Regions from separate parts of the Homo sapiens genome. Here region 1 is linked to region 2. Evidence: promoter capture Hi-C in 16 types of primary human blood cells and fetal thymus (Javierre and others, 2016). All regions are on one chromosome and are shown on one strand. Each heading gives the region's core, a stretch centred on a gene start or on the middle of the fragment in contact. The rest is flanking DNA. Distances are from core to core; before and after follow the strand shown. Region 1 overlaps EVI5 (ecotropic viral integration site 5). Region 2 holds the start of C1orf146 (chromosome 1 open reading frame 146).

The links. The method cuts DNA at HindIII sites, captures the fragments that hold promoters and counts their contacts. A CHiCAGO score of 5 or more calls a contact.
Region 1: a fragment that was not itself captured here is called in contact with the fragment with the promoter of C1orf146 in region 2 in 2 of 17 cell types (fetal thymus and total CD8 T cells); the score reaches 7.1 in fetal thymus.

The regions. Positions count from the first base shown.
Region 1 is chr1:92,636,226-92,640,337 of GRCh38, reverse strand. It overlaps EVI5 (ecotropic viral integration site 5), which reads left to right. Exons shown (of 20, transcript NM_001350197.2): 14 at 4,002-4,112. Among named protein-coding and RNA genes, the nearest start is that of EVI5, 150 kb to the left of the region's middle. The HindIII fragment of the contact is 2,003 bases long and covers 775-2,777 here.
Region 2 is chr1:92,215,054-92,219,717 of GRCh38, reverse strand. It overlaps C1orf146 (chromosome 1 open reading frame 146), which reads right to left and starts at 1,803. Exons shown (of 6, transcript NM_001012425.2): 1 at 1,670-1,803. The HindIII fragment of the contact is 5,529 bases long and covers 945-4,664 here.

The DNA of each region.
Region 1 (4,112 bases), core at 527-3,026, 420 kb before region 2:
CTCCTGTTCTGTAGGTTGACTGTTCACTCTGATGATAGTTTCTTTTGCTGTGCAGAAGCTCTTTAATTAGATCCCATTTGTCAGTTTTGGCTTTTGTTACAATTGCTTTTGGTGTTTTAGACATGAAGTCTTTGCCCATGCCTATGTCCTGAATGGTATTGCCTAGGTTTTCTTCTAGGGTTTTTATGGTTTGGGGTTTTACATTTAAGTCTTCAATCCATCTTGAGTAAATTTTTGTATAACATGTGAGGAAGGGATCCGGTTTCAGTTTGCTGCATATGGCTAGCCAGTTTTCCAAGCACCATTTATTGAATAGGAGATCCTTTCCCCATTGCTTTTGTCGGGTTTGTTGAAGATCAGATGGTTGTAGAAGTACGGTGTTATTTCTCAGGTCTCTGTTTTGTTCCATTGGTTTATATGTCTTTTTGGTACCAGTACCATGCTGTTGGGTTACTGTAGCCTTGTAGTATAGTTTGAAGTCAGGTAGCGTGATGCCTCCAGCTTTGTTCTTTTTGCTTAGGATTGTCTTGGCTATACAGGCTCTTCTTTGGTTCCATATGAAATTTAAAGTAGTTTTTTTCTAATTCTGTGAAGAATGTCAATGGTAGTTTGATGGGAATAGCATTGAATCTATAATTACTTTGGGCAGCATGCACAATTTTTTATTTAGAGTTGTGATAAGTGTTACAAAAGAGATGAGAACAGGGTTCCATGAAATGTTTGGGTTCCTGAAAAGAGCATATAAATGTCATATCTTGAACTTAGTTAAAAGCTTAATGTATACTTAAATTCAAGCAATATTGGATACATTTGCATGGACAACCCTTTTTCTAATTTCAATTTTTTTTCACTTAATAATATGAGAAACTTCCCCCAATACAAATATTTACTTTTTACTGTATTACTCCTATTTCCTTCAAATATTGAAATTTTTTTTAATAATATGAGAAACTTCCCCCAATACAAATATTTACTTTTTACTGTATTACTCCTATTTCCTTCAAATATTGAAGATTTTTTTTTAAGCTCAAGACACAAGCAAAAAGGATTACTGAGGACTTTCTAACTTACCTTTACCTTTGTAATTTTTGCAACACCAGAAAAGCACATAGGATTGAAAAGCAGACTCTGCTTACTAAAAAGAATTTCTGTCAGTTTCATTGGAATGGGATTGCTGGTATCACAGAAACATTATGAGATTCATTTACATAAATTAACTTGATGTAAGTATAGAGAAGTCATCTGTCATTTCTATGCTTTTAAATAAACGGCTCCCCTTGCTGAGACTGCCAGCCATCATAATTGTGGCAGTTGTCATTTGGTAAAACAAATTGTGTGTCTGTCCAAGTTACTCACTTGAATATGAAATGCACTCTTCTAGGAATTTCTTAATACAAGAACATTATGTGAGATCTATATGCTTAGATTTTTTTTAGAGGTTTGGATTTTTTTAATATTATATAATTAATTTTTAGAACAGTATATATTAAAACAATATATTAAACTCTTCAACACCTATATGGCTTAAAGGTGAGGAACATGGGCTCTGTAATACAAACTGTCAATTAATAGCACTATCAACTGCTGTTTGACCTTGGTGTACCCTATTAGTTTCCTTATTAGTAAGACAGTAATTGTGGTGAAGGTTAAAGGAGAATATAAAGTGCTTAACATGTGTCTGGCACATAGTAAGTGGTGAGTAGATGTTAGCTGCTGTCATAATTGTCATTTCTGTCAAACATTAAAACATGTTTATAAAACTGTTTTCCCCCTGTGGAAAATAGAATAAATTGAAACTACAGTGGTTAGCTTCAGGTAATTTATAGTTCACAGCAGCATCTTTTCCTTAGACACTGTGTAATTTGCAGTATGTTAATTGGCCACCATCATGATGACCTGGGAATTATATTCTGTAAACTCTGTCAGTGGCAAAAAAATTTACATAATACGTTTAGAGTTATTTTAATCCAGAAGACTAAAATAATATGTTTTAGAGTATAAAAAGCATAAGATATATATTATCCAGAATGACTTGTTATCAGAGCATTTCAGCTCTCTGTAAATTTTATTAATAAAGATTTGTGCCCAACATTACTATAGCTTTTTGTACTTGATTGGATTAGTTGGTTTATGCCAATCAAGAATTCCATTCTCATATGGGCCTTTGAGTTTGATGTTTTCTTGGGGATCTTCTAATATAAAGTCTTTGCAAACAAACCTGTGCTACAGTTGCCAGGGCTTTAAGTTGAGGGCAAAAAAATTCTTCCAGTACCCACGAAATAACTGTGATCTAATTAAATAAATTATGGCACATCTAGTTTGGATGTGGTCATTCCAAAAGAATGCCTTTTTCCTAATTGATAAAAGGTAAGTATTTGCTAAGATGATGTGTCTGTTGCAGATGCACTTCTCGTATTGAAATATTGTTTCAATAGTATCAAAATTACTAGAAGAAATAATGTATAATGCATTGAATTAAAGTCCTCATTTGCACATCTTTTTTTGGTAACTGGGGCAGGAGAGTACCATGTATTAAGCATCTGGTTATTTTTAATAGTTTTGATTTGACATCTGTTTTGTTCCTAACATATTAAAGAGTAAAAATAACTGTGCTTTATTCATGCTAGTTCAGTAGAAGATTGTTTTTTATGACTTTATTTTGAAATTTTGAGTTGCCACATTTTCTTTACTACATAAATTAAATGTGAAGTGATAGACAATTTATTTTAGAAAGTATTTTATAATGATGAATTACATATTGCTTTTGTACAGAAGCTTTTCTATGGGCACTGGCTTAAAAATGACGACTTAAGTGTTTGCATCAATATTCATGTTTTATAGAGTAGGAAAGCAAATGGGAAAGTTGCGTGCTTCCGTGGTTAATTTCTTTGTGCAGCATCTGCGTCTTCTCTACTTCCAGCAATTATTTCTATGTATATCTTTTTTTTTTTTTTTTCTTGAGACAAGAGTCTTGCTCTGTCACCTGGGCTGGAGTACAGTGGCATGATCTTGGCTTACTGCAACCTCCACCTCCCGGGCTCAAGCCATTCTCCTGCCTCACACTCCCTAGTAGCGGGGATTACAGGCGTGTGCCACCATGCCCAGCTAATTTTTGTATTTTTAGTAGAGACAGGGTTTCACCACGTTGGCCAGGCTGATCTTGAACTCCTGGCCTCAAGTGATCCACCCGCCTCGGCCTCCCAAAGTGCTGGGAAACCATGCATATCTTTTGAAGAAGATTTCTACATTTCTAAGGACAAATACAATTTTGTTATTTTGGAATTTAGATGGTTCACATTATTGTAGGTACCCTGTTTTTTTTCTATTAGATTAAAATATATTTTTCAGTAATCTTTACATGTCTTCTGTAGTATATAACAGTACTATCAAATAGCAATATAATGTGTCACATATGCAATTTAAGATTTTCTAATACCCACATTAAAAGGAGCAAAAAAAGGTAAAATTAATATTTTTATTTACCTCAGTATATTCAAAATATTATTTTAATGTAATCAATATAAAAATCATTGAGATTTTTTTATTTCATATTAATTCTTCAAAATCCAGTTTGTATTTTATACTTATAACTTGTTTTAATCTGTATTAGCCACATTTCAAGTGTTCAGTAGCCACATGTGGCTAATTGCTATCCTATTTATTGTGCAGTGTAGGTCTGTAAAGTCAGAAAAAATTCTTTGTATCTGGATGGATGGACAGATAAAAGGAGATGTTTATCTTATATGAATCAGATTTGATCAGCGTAATAACTAGTTACCAAAACCCAATAATGTGGTCATCTTTATAGATATCAAAGGTGGGCTTTTTTACTCATTGGAGAAGTTAATTGGAGGAGATACATTGGAAATATTGGGTAGATGGAACTTCTCCTATTTAGTTGCCCTTAATGTAATATAACTGTATTATGTGGTTGCATTGTTTTTATTGTATATACATGTTTATACTTTCATGAAATTTCAGTGTATGTCTGTAACCTTTAGCATAAATGCAGTTCCAACTACAACGAAGATTTTGTGCTACAGCTAGAGAAGGAATTGGTCCAAGCCCGACTGAGTGAAGCTGAGTCTCAGTGTGCATTAAAAGAGATGCAG
Region 2 (4,664 bases), core at 554-3,053:
GCACCTGTAAATAACAACTGTACTCCAGCCTGGGCAACATAGCAAGACCCTGTCTCTAAAAATATTAAACAGTGGGGGTGGGGAATATAACTCCCCATTCCTTAGGTGTGGCTGCACACCCAGGAGGTGGAGGTTGCAGTGACCTGAGATCCCATTCCTGCACTCCAGCGTGGGTGATAGAGCGAGACTCTGTCTTAAAAAAAAAAAAAAAAAAAAAAAAAGAAAGAGAAAGTCACTTTCAGTGATGGTAAGTTAGTATCTCCCAAGGTGATTTCATTCTACTTTTCAACAACTTTAATAATTAGAAAGTTCTTCCTGCTGAGTTGAAACCAGCTGCTCTCTAATTTCCTCATTTATTGCATGAATGAATGAATGAGAAGTTAACTAGCTCCATGAGAGCAGGGACACATTCTGATTCTGTTTTACCTTACTCAGCACCTGGCACTCAGTAGACACTCAAAGATTTGTGAATGAGTAAATGGTGAGTTGGCTGGGGGAAGGGCTTCAACTTCTATAACCCCCCCTACACATACTTACTAATACACCCACATAGCTATGAATACATATATGCAAAGGTTACAAGAACTTTTTGGAGTAGTTACTGGTATGTATGTGGATATGTATGTTTGTGCCTATCAGTTAGTAATCCATAAATGTTCATTTAAATCTTTACACCCTTATACATAGGTTTTAAAAACAATTTAACTAAAGCTAAGAGAAGTAAAGTAATCACGTGCACAATAAGTGAGAAAGGAGTGGGGTCAGTCGTGTCCCAAGTCCCTGTTAAAGGTGAGGAATGAATCAGAAACCTGGGGCTGGGGCAGTGCCTTCTCAGCATTTCTGGGGAAAAGCTCCTCGACCAGCAGCCAAGCAAGGACTGTGTGGCTTTGGGCAAATCACGTCACCTCTGGTTAGGCTGCATCCTCACCTGAAAACAAAAAGCTTCTAAACGGGAGGTGAACGCTGAGCGTGCAGGGACAGAGGGGAGGGGCAGGCGCGGGGGACGGGACCGGGGGACCAGAAGGTGGAGGAGGGACAGTCACTAATGGGCACCTGGGGGACGACAGAATCTGGACAACAAACTCCCGTGACACGAGTTTAACCTATGTAACACACCTGCACACGGACTCCTGAACCTAACATAAAAGTTAAATTAAAAATAAAAACAAAAAGCGTGGGCCCAGTGGCCTCTTAAACCTTTGCCAGTTCCAAGGCCCTGGTATTCTGGGCTTTTGTTGCTACTGTTTTGTTTTTTCCAAGCTCTGGAGTGTTTGCAAATTTAAGTTTAACACTGCCCCATCATCTCCAGCAAGTCACTTTCCCTGCTCAGTCTCCTCACGGGTCCAGTGAGGCGCCGGCCTACAAGGATCTTCACGGTCTCTTCCATTCTTTACTTTTCGGAGTGACCAACAAAGCCTAAAGCAAATAAAATTTACACTCGCAGGTGGGTGACGGACTTCTGACAGGGAAAACCCCGAGGGAGCCCTTTCCACACCGATTCTCAAGGGGAAAATAGGGTGGGCAGGATCTCCTCCCCTCACCCGCCAAAGCCCTGAGGTAAAGCTCTGAGCTCGGCAAGTCAGAGAGCACTACGCCGGCGAAGAACGAAGAAAGAAAAACGCGAAGAGACAGGTCTGCCGAGGCCTCATCCCCAGCGCTGCAAACCCACCTGCTCACCAGGTCCTCAGAGACCGCTCAGGGTTTCCCAAACTTCCAGAACGTTCCGTGAGCAGTGAGAGGCGCCGCCGGTAGGGCAGAGCGCCCAGGGTGCCTGGGGCAGGGTTCTGCAGTCGCTGGGCTTCTGCGCAACCGCAGACCCCGCAAACCTTTTCCGCGCTTCTGGCTCCCTAGAGCGAGGTTTGCAGGAAGCCGGAAGTGGTTAAGAAGATACAAGATTTGTAGGCCTGGCGCGGTGGCTCATGCCACTAATCCCAGCACTTTGGGAGGCCGAGGTGGGCGGATCACGAGGTCAGAAGTTTGAGACCAGCGTACCAACATGGTGAAACCCCGTCTCTACTAAAAATGCAAAAATTAGCTGGGCATGGAGGCGCGCACCTGTAATCCCAGCTACTCGAGAGGCTGGGGCAGGAGAATCGCTTGAACCCAGGAGGCGGAGGTTGCAGTGAGCGAGATCGCACCACTGCACTCCAGCCTGGGTGACAGGGCAAGACTCCGTCTCAAAAAAAAAAAAAAAAAAAAAACAAGATTTTTGCGTGTTAGACTCAGTTGTCCGGAATTGATTTTCACAGTTTTCTAAAATTCAGGCTCAATTCTTAGATTTCTGTCATTTGCAACATAAAATCAAAGTGGCCTTCAGTTTATCCAAATTATGAAAAAGGTAGATTTTCATGAGCAGCTGTCAAAAGGACATACAGGGGCCTGTGTGTTTGCTTTTTAGGACCCCATTATGTTCAGACCTAATTGAAGCTCAGCAATTTATTAAGTGTCACAATCATAAAAATGTAAAAAGACAAAGACCACTACTTGCCTTGAGCCTAATGGTTAGGATACAAAACTATGTGCCTTACTTTGTAAAACAGGTATTCCTGTAGAAAGAAAGGTGCTCCAGGAAAAATCCTTTGGAGCACACTTGTGATGTGCTGTTAATTTTTCCCTGTGATAACCATTTTGTATGTTTGGCATTTTGTATAACTGATATTAAAATTAGGTGCACTCTTGCTGCCTCATTTGGGCAGTTTGTTAAGCCACCACACCTGGCCTCTTGTTTATAAATTACCTGGTCTAAGGTATTTTGTTATCGTGGCCATAATGGACTAAGACAATTCCTCCTCTCTTCAAATCTCCAGAACTTATTCCTCATCTTCATTTTCGGCTGAAGTGAAATAGTTACTGCTAATATTTCATAAAGATTTATGATTTTAATAGTATTTAGTATTTAATATTAAATACTATTCAAATGAGATAAATAAAAGCATCCAGAAACGAAGTTCCACAGATGTCCACCTACCAATCTACCAACATCTATATGCCAGATTCTGCTTTCTTTCCAACTATAGTAGGTGAACTGTATAATCCTATGTAAGGCCAGCCCTCAAATGGACAACAGAGCCCATCTCTTCTTGCTTACCCAAGAATATAGCTCCACCGGCCAGTCGCGGTGGCTCACGCCTGTAATCCCAGCCCTTTGGGAGGCTGAGGCAGGTGAATCACAAGGTCAGGAGATCAAGATCAGCCTGGCCAATATGGCAAAACCTCATCTCTACTAAAAATACAAAAAATTAGCCAGGTGTGGTGGTGCACACCTGTAGTCCCAGCTACTTGGGAGGCTGAGGCAGGAGAATTGCTTGAACCTGGGAGGCAGAGGTTGTAGTGAGCCAAGATCATGCCACTGCACTCCAGCCTGAACAACAGAGCAAAACTGTCTCAAAAAAAAAAAAATATATATATATATATATATATATATATATCCACCAATTATTTCCTGACTCTTACAATCTTCAATTTTCTCCTCTCCACTGAATAGTCTCAATAGCAAATAAATATGCCATTATTTCTCTCATCTTAAAATCTCTTAATCTCCTCTCCCACACCAGCTAACAATCCATTTCTCTGCTCTCTTTACAGAAAAACTCAAAAGGATTGTCTATAATTTCTGTTGCTAATGCCCTTTTTTCCCATTCTTTATCAAATTTATTCCAATCAGACTTTTTCATTTCCACCATACCACAGAAATTGCTCATGTCAAAGTCATTGGTAAATCCAGCAAACAGCTGTCAATACTAATTTTACTTGGTCAATCAGCAGTACTTGTTACAGTTGATCATTCCCTCCTCCTGGAAAAACTTTCTTTCCTTGGCTTCCCCATATCATGCTCTCATGGTTTCCCTCCAGCCTCACTGGCCATTTATCAGCATCCTTATTGGTTCTTCCTCAAAACCCAACCTTTTAATCTTGCTTGGAGTGCCGCAAGCTCAGTCCTTGGACCTCTTTTCTTCTCTGGGTATATTTGTTACTTTGGTGTCCTCCTTAACTCATAGTGTTAGATATCATCCATGTGCTGACAAATTCCAAATATCTATCTACAGCCCTGGCCTTTCCCCTGAACTCCAAACTGGTATAACCAATTGCTGTTTAATATTTCCAGTAATAGACATCTCAAATTTCACATGTCCAAAACTGAACTTCTGACTTCCCCTCCCAATGCTGCACCATCTATAGTCTTCCTTATCTCAATTAAAGATTACACATATTTTATTTAAATACTTTGACTGTCTTACATACCCTTTTCAGCCATCAGGAAGTCTTGTTGCCTGTACTTTCAAAATATATCCAGAGCCTGACCACCTTTCTGGTTTGAGCCACCATCAGCTTTCACCTGGATTATTGCAATAGACTCCTAACAGGTTTCCGTTTTCACCTTGCCCCTAAAGTCTTTTTTCAACATAGCAACCAGGGTAATCCTTTGAAACAGAAGTCAGATTGTGTCTTTCCTTTGCTTAAAACCATATAATTGCTCTCAAAAAAAAAAAAATAAAAAAACAGGCCAGGCACAGTGGCTCAACGCTTATAATGCCAGCACTTTAGGAGCCCGAGGCGGGTGGATCACCTGAGGTCAGGAGTTCAAGACCAGTCTGACCAACATGGAGAAACCCTGTCTCTACTAAAAATACAAAATTAGCCAGGCATGGTGGTGGATGCTTGTA